Regions from separate parts of the Homo sapiens genome. Here regions 1 and 2 are each linked to region 3. Evidence: promoter capture Hi-C in 16 types of primary human blood cells and fetal thymus (Javierre and others, 2016). All regions are on one chromosome and are shown on one strand. Each heading gives the region's core, a stretch centred on a gene start or on the middle of the fragment in contact. The rest is flanking DNA. Distances are from core to core; before and after follow the strand shown. Region 1 has its middle 72 kb from the start of LINC00895. Region 2 has its middle 55 kb from the start of LINC00895. Region 3 holds the start of SLC25A1 (solute carrier family 25 member 1).

What was found. Contacts are between HindIII fragments. The CHiCAGO score rates a contact against its expected background, and 5 or more counts as called.
Region 1: a fragment that was not itself captured here is called in contact with the fragment with the promoter of SLC25A1 in region 3 in 1 of 17 cell types (erythroblasts); the score reaches 6.2 in erythroblasts.
Region 2: a fragment that was not itself captured here is called in contact with the fragment with the promoter of SLC25A1 in region 3 in 4 of 17 cell types (total B cells, activated CD4 T cells, naive B cells and 1 more); the score reaches 11.5 in total B cells.

Annotation. Positions count from the first base shown.
Region 1 is chr22:19,636,751-19,640,230 of GRCh38, forward strand. No RefSeq gene overlaps it. Among named protein-coding and RNA genes, the nearest start is that of LINC00895, 72 kb to the left of the region's middle. The HindIII fragment of the contact is 4,348 bases long and covers 1-3,480 here.
Region 2 is chr22:19,620,236-19,623,556 of GRCh38, forward strand. No RefSeq gene overlaps it. Among named protein-coding and RNA genes, the nearest start is that of LINC00895, 55 kb to the left of the region's middle. RefSeq lists an enhancer at 96-857. The HindIII fragment of the contact is 3,998 bases long and covers 1-3,249 here.
Region 3 is chr22:19,177,365-19,180,467 of GRCh38, forward strand. SLC25A1 (solute carrier family 25 member 1) reads right to left here and starts at 1,372. Exons shown (of 9, transcript NM_005984.5): 1 at 1,216-1,372; 2 at 769-876; 3 at 578-677; 4 at 363-501. The coding sequence starts at 1,309. It overlaps CLTCL1 (clathrin heavy chain like 1), which reads right to left. Exons shown (of 33, transcript NM_007098.4): 32 at 2,835-2,874; 33 at 2,109-2,605. The coding sequence ends at 2,855. RefSeq lists silencers at 589-1,668, 1,869-1,968 and an enhancer at 670-1,417. The HindIII fragment of the contact is 6,402 bases long and covers 1-3,103 here.

The DNA of each region.
Region 1 (3,480 bases), core at 833-3,332, 460 kb after region 3:
CAAACACCGGCCTCCCTTGCCTCATCTCTCGCATCTTAAATCTCTTTCACCTACGAACCGACTCAAGCATCAGCCTTAGAAGGATGCCCTGGGCCCCGTTCCTCTGTCCATGCACATCCAGGCTCTACCCCGGGAGTTCAAGGCCACCTTCAGTTCCTATATCCTGTCCCTGCTCTCTGTGACCTCTGACCCCACAGCCCCAGGTCTCTAAGCGTCCTCCCACCTGAGCCGCTGCTCAGGCCAGCCCCGAGCAGCCCTCTGTGGGTCCTGATTCCCAAAGAGCATGATCCCAGGTCTTTCTGGGTCCCTCCCACCTTGCCCTACTTCATGCTTCCGTGCCTAGCCACACCCCTGCACAACCTGTGATCTGGCCTCAGGAAATCTGTTTCTCATGTCTGCTGTATAGGCTTGGCTGCCCATGGCAGCAGGAAGAACCTCGCCTCCCTTGCTCACACAGCAAAGGCGTTTAGGCCTCATATTGGGGAAGCCCAGGGTGGGAGGCCCCTGACTCTTTGGACCCATGACGACATCAAGAGTATCTTCGTATCTGTGCTCTGCCATCCTCAGCTGGCTTTCCTCAGCTGCCATTTCAGTCTTCACACCAGATGTGATGGTGTCCCAGGAAGAAGAGGCCATCTCTTCCCATGGCTCTCTTCGTCAATAGAGAGTACATTCTAGAAGCCCCGTGGTAGGCTTCCCTATGGCTTGCACAGGACTGAATCACAGAACTGTGTCCTCAGCAGTCACTGGCAGGGGACAGGGGTCACCCGAACTGGGTGGAGGCCCGAACCTGACACCCCTGAGCTGTGCTAAGCAGAGGGCTCCTGAACAGAATTGAGATTGAGGCCACAGGGCCAGGCTGACTCCCTCCTGCCCCACGTGCTCTCCGGTGAGACCCTGCTTGGTCTGCAAAGCCGAGCTCGATGCCCTCCCTACCTCTTCTCTCCTAGGCCTCATCCACGGCCTTGTCTTGGGCCAGACAGCCATGTGCCATGTCTGTCCTCCCATGCAGCATCTGCACCGTGGGGGTGGGGGGGGAGATTCTCTGCCACGTTCAGCACCTCAAAGGCAGGGGGTGCATTTCACTCAGCTCTGCATCCTGTGCACCCTCAGCCATGCCGGCAGAGCATGTGTGGGGAAGGGCCCGAGGGACCCCAGGGAAGGAAGAGCACTGTGTCTGCATCCAGAAGAAAGTTCTGAAAAAAATGGGAACCTCTGTGACTACAATGAACTTGTAACAAAAGCAATGACTTTGCTCTTCCAGGAGGCACAAAAGGAGCCCCAGGCAGTGCGCAGGACCCCCAGGCAGTGGTCAGGAGCCCTGGGCAGTGAGGAGGAGCCCCAGGCAGTGGTCAGGAGCCCAGGGCAGTGAGGAGGAGCCCCAGGCAGTGGTCAGGGGGCCTGGGAAGCAGCCAAGAGCCCTGGGCAGTGGACAGGAAGCCCAGGCAGTGGCCAGGGGCCCCAGGCAGTGAGTAGGAGCCATGGGCAGTGGCCAGGAGCTGCAGCGTGCCAGTGTTCGCTCTGGCACTCAGTCAGGGACATCTGGACCAGCATCCTGCATGGGCTGGGTCTCAGGCTCCTTGCTCCATGAATTAGCAGAATCTCAGGCACCTGCTCTTGAATATGGGAAGGTGACATAGCACTTCTAGTAGGTCTTTTCCTAACCTCTTCCCTTTGCAGTTATTCTTTTTCAACCTAAGCATGCCAGGTGATGACCTTGTGATTCTCCTAACATACAAATGGCAGGCATGGAATAGTTCCTACCCAGGGTGCTGTGCTGGCCAAGGCTTTTCCAGCTTGGAGCAGACCTCATGCTCAGCCAGGAGACTGCCCACGGCCTTGGTGAGTTCCAGAGTCTCCTCTCCCTGCAGGGGTGTCTTCAGGAGCCCACAACCCAGCAAGTCCCTCTTCAGTGAAATGTGCGGGAGGAGGCACTGCAAGGCCCCAGGCCTCCAGGAAGCCGGAAGGTGCTGATGGGGTGCAAGGCAGGGCAGGGCTGGGGGAGGGGGGGCGCAAGGTTCACAGAGGCAGTGAGTGGAGTTCTGTTAACAGGGAAATGAATTAAAATATGTGGTGCGTGGACTTTGGGTCTCGAGGCCCAGAAAGCTGAGGCAAGGTGGCCTGAGTCAAATGGACAGGGATTGTCTGCCCAGGAGCTGGTTCAGCCGACATCAGAGATCATCTGTCTGCACAATGGCCTGCTAGTAAAGATTTTCAAGTTGTTCACACGTGTTACCCTTGAGGGTTTAGAAACATTCCCTGGGCACTCCCAGGGTGCTCAGACAGATGCTGTGGACTGGTGGCCAGTGAGCACTAATCATGACTTTTATTTTTCTTTTTGAGACAAGGGTCTCACTTTGTCACACAGGCTGGAGTGCAGTGGCACGATCACAGCTCACTGCAGCCTCAAACTCCCGGGCTCAAGTAATTCTCCTGACTTAGCCTCCAGAGTAGCTGGGACTACAGGTGCATACCACCACGCCCAACTAATTTTCTATTTTTAGTAGAGATGAGGTCTCACTTTGTTGCCCAGGCTGGTCTCGAACTCCTGACCTCAAGTAATCCTCCCATCTCGGCCTTGAAAAGTGCTTGAATTATAGGCATGAGCCACTGCACCTGGCATAATCATGCTGTTTATATGTTATGATGTTTTGATATCTTGGGAGGCCAGGCTGGCTGGGAAGAGACTGTCCCTCCCAGAGACAGCTAAATCCTACAGATGATAAACAACTTGCCTGGGAGCCTGTTTATTCACATGCAGACCAACCCATCCCAAGTCCATACTCCCAACCACCCCCTCTATCTAACTCTTACAACCAAGCCATTATTTCCTGGGCCCTGAATCCCACAGGGCCAGGCAGCAGGCACTAGGGATGGCCCTATACCCTGGCCAGCCAGCCTTATTCAGACCAGCTGGTCCTGAGCTGTTCACCTGCCCCACCTTGAAAGGCTCTGGTCTCAGCTTTCCCTGTCTCCTCTCTGCTTCCTGACCCAACCTGGGTCACCCACTGTGGCCTTGTGGGTGGGGTGAGTGTGCCCCTCCTCTCCAGAAATACGAATAATGAAGTCTTTCAGTGGCGCTGGCCACTCTCTGTGGGTGCTGACACCTCTGTAAGTTAAACTCCCATAGGCACGATGGAGACGCCTTGTGACTCAGCTCCTCAGTGCCAACACGGGCTGCCCCGTCGGCCACAGCGCGGCCAAAGAGCCCAGAGAGCGTTAGTATCTGTAGCCAGGCCCCTGTTGCCACCCCAGCTCTCCCGTAACCTCACATGCATGGCGCTGCTCTACTTCACCTCAGAAAAAGGACACACATTTACGTTCCATTTTTTACTTCAAATAATTGTTTAGATTGTGGTAAAATACATATAACACAACATTGGCCATTTGAACCAATTGGGTGGCACTAAGCACATCCACAGATTGTGCCACCATCTCCACCATCCGTCTCCAGGACTTTTCAACCGTCTCCACCATCTG
Region 2 (3,321 bases), core at 1-2,500, 440 kb after region 3:
TTTAAACAGGTAATTCATTCAAAATGAGGTCATGAGGGTGGGCCCTACTCTTGTATGACTGGTGTCCTATAAGAAAAGGAGACTAGGGCCTAGCAAGGTGGCTCCCAACAGTTTGGGAGGCCAAAGCAGGAGGATTGCTCAAGCCCAGATGTTCGAGACCAGCCTGAGCAACATGGTGAGACCCCCATCTCTACAAAAAATTTTAAAAATTAGCCAGGCATGGTGAGGTGCACCCGTAGTCCCAGCTACTTGGGAGCCTGGGAGGCTGAGGCAAGAGGATCGCTTGAGCACTAGGAATGTGGGGCTTCGGTGAGCCATGATTGTGCCACTGCACTCCAATCTGGGCAACACAGCAAGATCCTGTCTCTAAAACTAAATAAAGAAAGAAAAAGGAGAGGAGATTAGGACACAGGTATGCCCAGAGGGATGACCCTCTGAGGGCATGGCGAGAAGACGGCCATCGACAAGCCCGGGAGAAGGTCCCCGGAAGACATAACCCTGCCCACGCCTTGATCCCAGACTTCCGGCCCGCAGAATATAAGACAATAAAGGTCTGCGGTGAGGCCACCAGCCAGTGGCACTTTGTGATGGCAGCCCCGGGAGGCCAAAACAGCTGCCTGTTCCCCACGTCCCTCTCCCAGCAGAAGCGCATGGGCTGCTCTTGAGCCCCAGCTGCAGTCCATCACTGTCAGTGCTAATGCGAAGCTCCCCTAAGACTGACTTGACAATATTGGCGAGTGGGCTTGACCCACCAGCCTGCATCCGGTGCCGGTGAATGGGCACTTACGTTCCTTATTGAAACGCTACTTGTGGCCCTCTGCTTCCCGGAGCTCCTGGCAACAGCCCAACTTTATGTTCCAAATAGGAAAAGGCTGCTTGATTTAAAGACTCGGACTTCATTAGGCGTTACCTTGATTTATGGAAAAATAATACTGAATGGTTGCATAACAATGGCCCACTGCTCACCTACGTGTGGCCTGGGGTTAATAAAACCGGCACATTTGTCTCTCCCACGATGACGTCAACGTGTACCAGCCCTTCTCTTCCACATGGGAAACGTGTTATGTTGTTCCAATTGTACATTCACTTGGTGAAGGGTTGTGTTAAGTGATTCCAAAAATTGACTGTGTATATTTTCTCTAGGGAAGTTATTGTATATTATTTTAGCTGGGAACATCTCTCGCACACAATTACTAATCAGAAGTGAAAATCAGGATTTGTCCCCGGCCCACCTGGCGGATCTGATGCAGCGCCAGGGCAGCCCGTGAAGACGGGCGCTCTTCCTCCGTGACTCTGGGCCAGGCAGAAGGAGCCTTGGAGAGGCTGCAGGAGGAAGCCCGGCTTGAGGCCATTCCTGTTTTGTCTTGCTGGAATTCAAAGATATTTGTTAATCCTTTCCCCCCACTTGAGTTGAGAAGGCCTGGAATGAGGTTTCACAAGCTGTGCCCTGTAGAGCTCCTGGGGAAACTGGCTCGAAAGAATGACTTCTCGAGAGGGAAACTAATATTTGCTTATTTTCCCCCCACTAACTTCCCAAGGGAAGGCTAATCTTTAGAAACACAGAAACTTTGGAGGCCAATAAAATTGAGAGCAAGAGAAGCGAGATTGTTTCATTGTTGCCACCATGAAGGAGAGTTTGTTTTTACTGGATTTCTTTTTCCCTTCAGGAAGGCTCTGGTAAGAGTCCTGATAGATTATTCTCGCACCCCTGGTTCTGGCTTTCCCCCCATTGTTTCAATTGCCCTTTTAATCACCACGATCTCAGTCAAGGTCAAGGCTGCTGTTTCATGTACCCGTGCCCCGCCTGCCCTCCTCTGCCGCGGATTCCCATGGGGATGTGTGTGGCTGCATGACCACCCTTCCGTGTCACCAATCACACCGAGCAGCCCTGAAGCCAGCGTGGGGTGTCGGCAGGGTGGTGGCACTCGGCATTTCCCAGCCTCTTCTTGGATGCCTGGGGTCCTCTCTGCAGGGTTTGGTGAGGCCCTGCTGGGGTGAGAGCCCTTGGCAGCCCCAACTGTGTCTGATCACAGGCGAAGCATTTATGAGGCAGCTGGGTCCCATAACAGAAACAGGGAAACCAGAGGCAGAAGTGACATTACGAAGTGGCTTACGGCGCTGCTAAGTCAGGGTTGGGGTAGCAAAGCGTCATATAGGGAACTGAAATGCTTTTCAGCGCACAATAGCAGTGAACTGGATGGGAATCTTCGGGCCGAGAGAAGTCCAGGCAGAGGCGTTAAAAAGTTTAGGCAAGGAAAAGGAGTGAAGGGCTGGACCTGGTGGGGTGGGGTCCCATTCCCAGGAGAGTCGGCCCTGCCCCAGCAGCTTCCAGCTGGAGCCTTCAAGGACCTGGAGGGGGCAGGACCAACCCCTCCACCCTCCCTGCCCTTCACCCTCAAGTTCACCTGCAGGGCTGTCTTCTTGCTTACTAAGGCCTGGGAGAGTTTAATTCCAAAGCAGAGGATGATGACTGGAGAAACGGATGCCTGGTTGAGTCACTTCTGGGGGCTCAGCATTGGAATCCCTCTGTAACCTCCCAGAAGCAGAAGTGGTGGCGTCCAAGGCTGCCCAGGCCCCTCCAGTGATGAGGAGCCCAGACCCTACAACACGCCTTTGCCCCCTGCACACCCTTCCTGCTGACAGCCCCATCCCATGCTCCTCCCCATCTGACCCGTGTGTGTGTGTGTGTGTGTGTGTGTGTGTGTGTGTGTGTGTGTGCGCCCCCCACCCCCGCAGACCTCCCGAGACAGCTCTGGCAGCCCCACCTGCCAGGGGTCAAGTGCAATTCCTCTGGAAGTAGCATCTTTCACATGGAAACGTTCCTTTATTTTCAGTAGTTATGGTCGTCAGCGAGCCCTCTTAAAGGAGTCAGGTGTCCTGCTTTTGTTAAAATGACGTTGTCTCCTAACTCTTAGAGAAGAGGAAAAATGTCTCTGCCCAGCTGGCATGCTGGGGCACAGACCACTGAAGCCAAGGCTTTGGACTCGGGGGTTCTGGAGGCTGGAGGAAGGGAGAAGGGGATGCAGCGCAGCGTGTTGTGTGTGCATAGTGCTCCAGGGACTCCAGAGGAGAAAGGAGTCCCTGGGGAAGAGACATGGGTCTGCCTCTTATCCTAAGTGCTTTCTGGTGCTCCAGGGAGAAGTGTTTCTTGTCTGAGATGTGGCAGACATTTAGAATCATTGCTCAGAACTGTCTCATCTTAAACCTTTTAACCAGAAAGTACAGAACCATTGCTCCAGGGGAAATACAAGCTTGTGAGAGCTTCTGTTTGCAACATTTCATTCACTAATCCATACATAACCTTGTTGTGTGTCTGTTTCT
Region 3 (3,103 bases), core at 122-2,621:
CCGGGACACAGGGCAGCCCACACGGACCATGCTCTGGGACACAGGGCAGCCCTGTGAGCAGCCTCTCCCTTTATGTTTGCTGCTCTTTTCCAGTTTTGGCAGTGAAGGTGTCATTTTGTTTTCTGCTTTATAAAAGTATTTTTTAAAGACTTTAAGGCTGCCTTTAGCATAGACTCAGCCTCCACGGGTGGCCCTTCGTGGCAGGCGTCCTGCCCCAGGGCCCCGCGGTCACCCCGCCGGCCTTCCCTGGCGTCCAGGAGACCCTCCCCAGCTTGCCGGTTGCCCCGGGAGCACCGGGCCAGCGGGGCCGCCCGTCTCCGTACTCCCTGCGTGTCCGGGGTCCTCGCCAGGACCTTCCCCACCTTGATGGTCTCCATGGGGCACACGACCACCACGGCCTCGGCCACGCCAGCGCCCAGGCCGCACAGCAGCCCACGCGTGCTGTCCAGCCGTCCCTGGGCATCCCGCATGTGGTTGCTGAGGAACTCGAACATTCCAAACCTGGAGGCGGGAGGCGGGTGAGAGGGGCTGCCGCGGCCGAGCCCCCCTCCCGCAGCAGCCACCGGCCGGGCCTCACCTGACGGCCGCCTTGGGGATGGAACCGTAGAGCAGGGAGCTAAGGCCGCGGTACAGGCCCAGGACGCCATGGCTGCGAACCGTCTGCCGCACGCAGTCCCCTGGGGGAGGGGGCGGTCAGGACCCCACGGCCCTCGGTGCCGCCGCCCTGGGTACCCGCCCCCCGCGGCGCCGCGGCCTCCCCCTCCTCACCGATGCCCCGGTACCGCGGCGGGTGCGAGCGCTCGTCCAGCTGCAGCTGCGTCTTCACGTACTCGGTGGGGAAGGTGATGCAGATCTCGATGCCACCCGCCAGGCCGCCTGCAGGGACCGGGAACCCGCTCCTGAGACTCCCGCCCGGCCGCTGGCGCTCGGGCCCCTCCCCCGTCCCGGACTTCGGTCGGCGCGGCCGCCGCGCCAGTGCCGCGGGGAACATAGGCTGGGGCCCCACGCCCCCATGCCCTCACCCCGTTGTCCCGGCGAGGCGCAGGGGGTGACAGACGGGAGGCGGGCGAGTCCCAGCGCGCCGGGTGGGGACCAGGACCGCGCCTCCACGACTCCCCAGCCCACGGCCCAACCCGGAAGTGGGGCGGGGCCTCAGCGTCCCGGGCCCACCCAGAAGCGCGGCGGGAGAGGGGTCCGCGTCCCGGAGGGGCCCACCTGCCAGGATCGCCTTCCCCGGGTGCGTCAGCTTGGCCTTCCCGGACGCGGGCGCGGCGGCCGCCAGAGCGCGCGGGGCGCGGGGCGCGGGCATGGCGGGCGGGAGGCGGGGCGCCCTGTGGCGGCTTCGGGTCCGAGACTCCAGAACTCCGCGCTCGGTCCGCGGTGGCGGCGGCGGCCGGTTATGGTCCCAGGGGCGGGGCGGCCGCGTCAGCTCCAGGTCCCGCCCCGCGTGGTCCGAGCCAGGCCCCGCCCCCAGCCCGCCCCGTGCGGGCCGGGAAACTGAGGCCTGGGCGGGGCGCGCCGAGGCAGGCGTAGGGGCGGGGCCAAAGCGCAGCCAATGGCCGAGGCCGAGTCCCTGGGCGACCGCGAGCGGCGGGACGGGGGCGGGGCTGCGGGAGGCGGAGCCGTGGCCCAGCTCCGAGCAGTGGGTCAAGGTGCACTGTGTGCCGCGCCGCGGGATAGCGGGCCTCGGGTCTGCGCGACTGTCGAGAGCGGCGGGATCCCCAGGGATCCCGGAGGCCAGGGGCACACCCTCCCCGAAAACACGTGGGGCTAGCCCAGTCCCAGAGGAACTCTAACGTTTCAAACCTGGAGGCGGGAGGCGGGAGGCCGGTGAGAAGGGGCTACGCCGCCGGGCCCCCCTCCCGCAGCAGCCACGGGCCGGGCCTCACCTGCCGGTTCCCACCCACACCTTTCCCGGTTGTAGTTTCTGCGCTCAGCGAACAAGGTCAGGAAAGACCACAAATGCAAGCGGCTGTATTCTCCTAGGCAGCTTGTCTGGGCAACGGAGGTCCCACACCCCAAAGAGGACCCAGCAAATCTTTAATGGACTGCGGGGCCTAGGAAACTGGCCCGTCCCTCCTACCCATACCAGCACCAAGCAGAGCACCTTTGCCTGGATAAACCGACTTTAATATTTATGATTGCCAAGAGGCTGAGAGTCCTTTTATGAGGTCCGGTACCTCCAAACAAGACGTGTTCATGTAGTCTTCAAACTGGCCTGGAGGGGGCAGCTCCAGCCAGTCGGAGGCGCCCAGGAGGAAGGCCTGGCTCCAGCAGGAGGGCCCACAGTCCAGTCTCTGTTGTCGGCTAAAGCTGGTCTTGCGCCGTCAGCCTCTACCCTGGCCTCCCCAGGCTCTGGGATGGCTCAGAGGTTGCCGTCATTGGGTTTCAGCAAAAATAAATATTGTCCAGGTGTCCCTGCCTCCCATTGCGTCCCCTGTGCTGCTGGAGTGACATGCTCCTTGGAGAAGTTAGTAACTCTGCAGGTAGGGTGGGTGGTGACAACGCCCACTACACGCGGAAGTTGTACATTGGAGGCTGGCGAAGTTGGGAGCAGAGGCATATCCATAGGGGAAGCTGGCAGGGGCTGGGCCCACGGCAGGGCCTGCAGAGGGGGAAGCCCACAATGAGCAGAGCTCTTCCTGCCCATGGGGGTCCTCTCCTGGCTGCCCCTGAGTAGCCCGGGGCCCAGGGAGCAGGGTCTATAGGACCAGCCCTTACCACCCAGACGCTGAGGCCCCAAGAGAGCAGGCATCCAGAGGCAAGGAGCGTGGGGTCAGCCAGAGAACCTGGCCTGGCTAGAGGATAAGCTAGTCTCCAAATGGGACACTTACTTAGTGCAATCAGCTGGGTCTCATTCATGCCCATCAAAATCTAAAAAAACCAGAATGACATTAATGGTGGAAGGACACACTCAGCCGGACGCTGGAGACCCGCCGGCGTGCTGCACACTCACACCACACCCTCAGGCCTGTGTTTGCCCCACAGTGTCCAAGCACCCCACAGCCTCTCCAGTCTGCTCGACAGCCAGGCTGCCCTGGGCAGGTTCTCAGGTGCAAAGCCCCTCCCAGCACACACCAGCAGCAGCCTTGCTGTCCAGGGG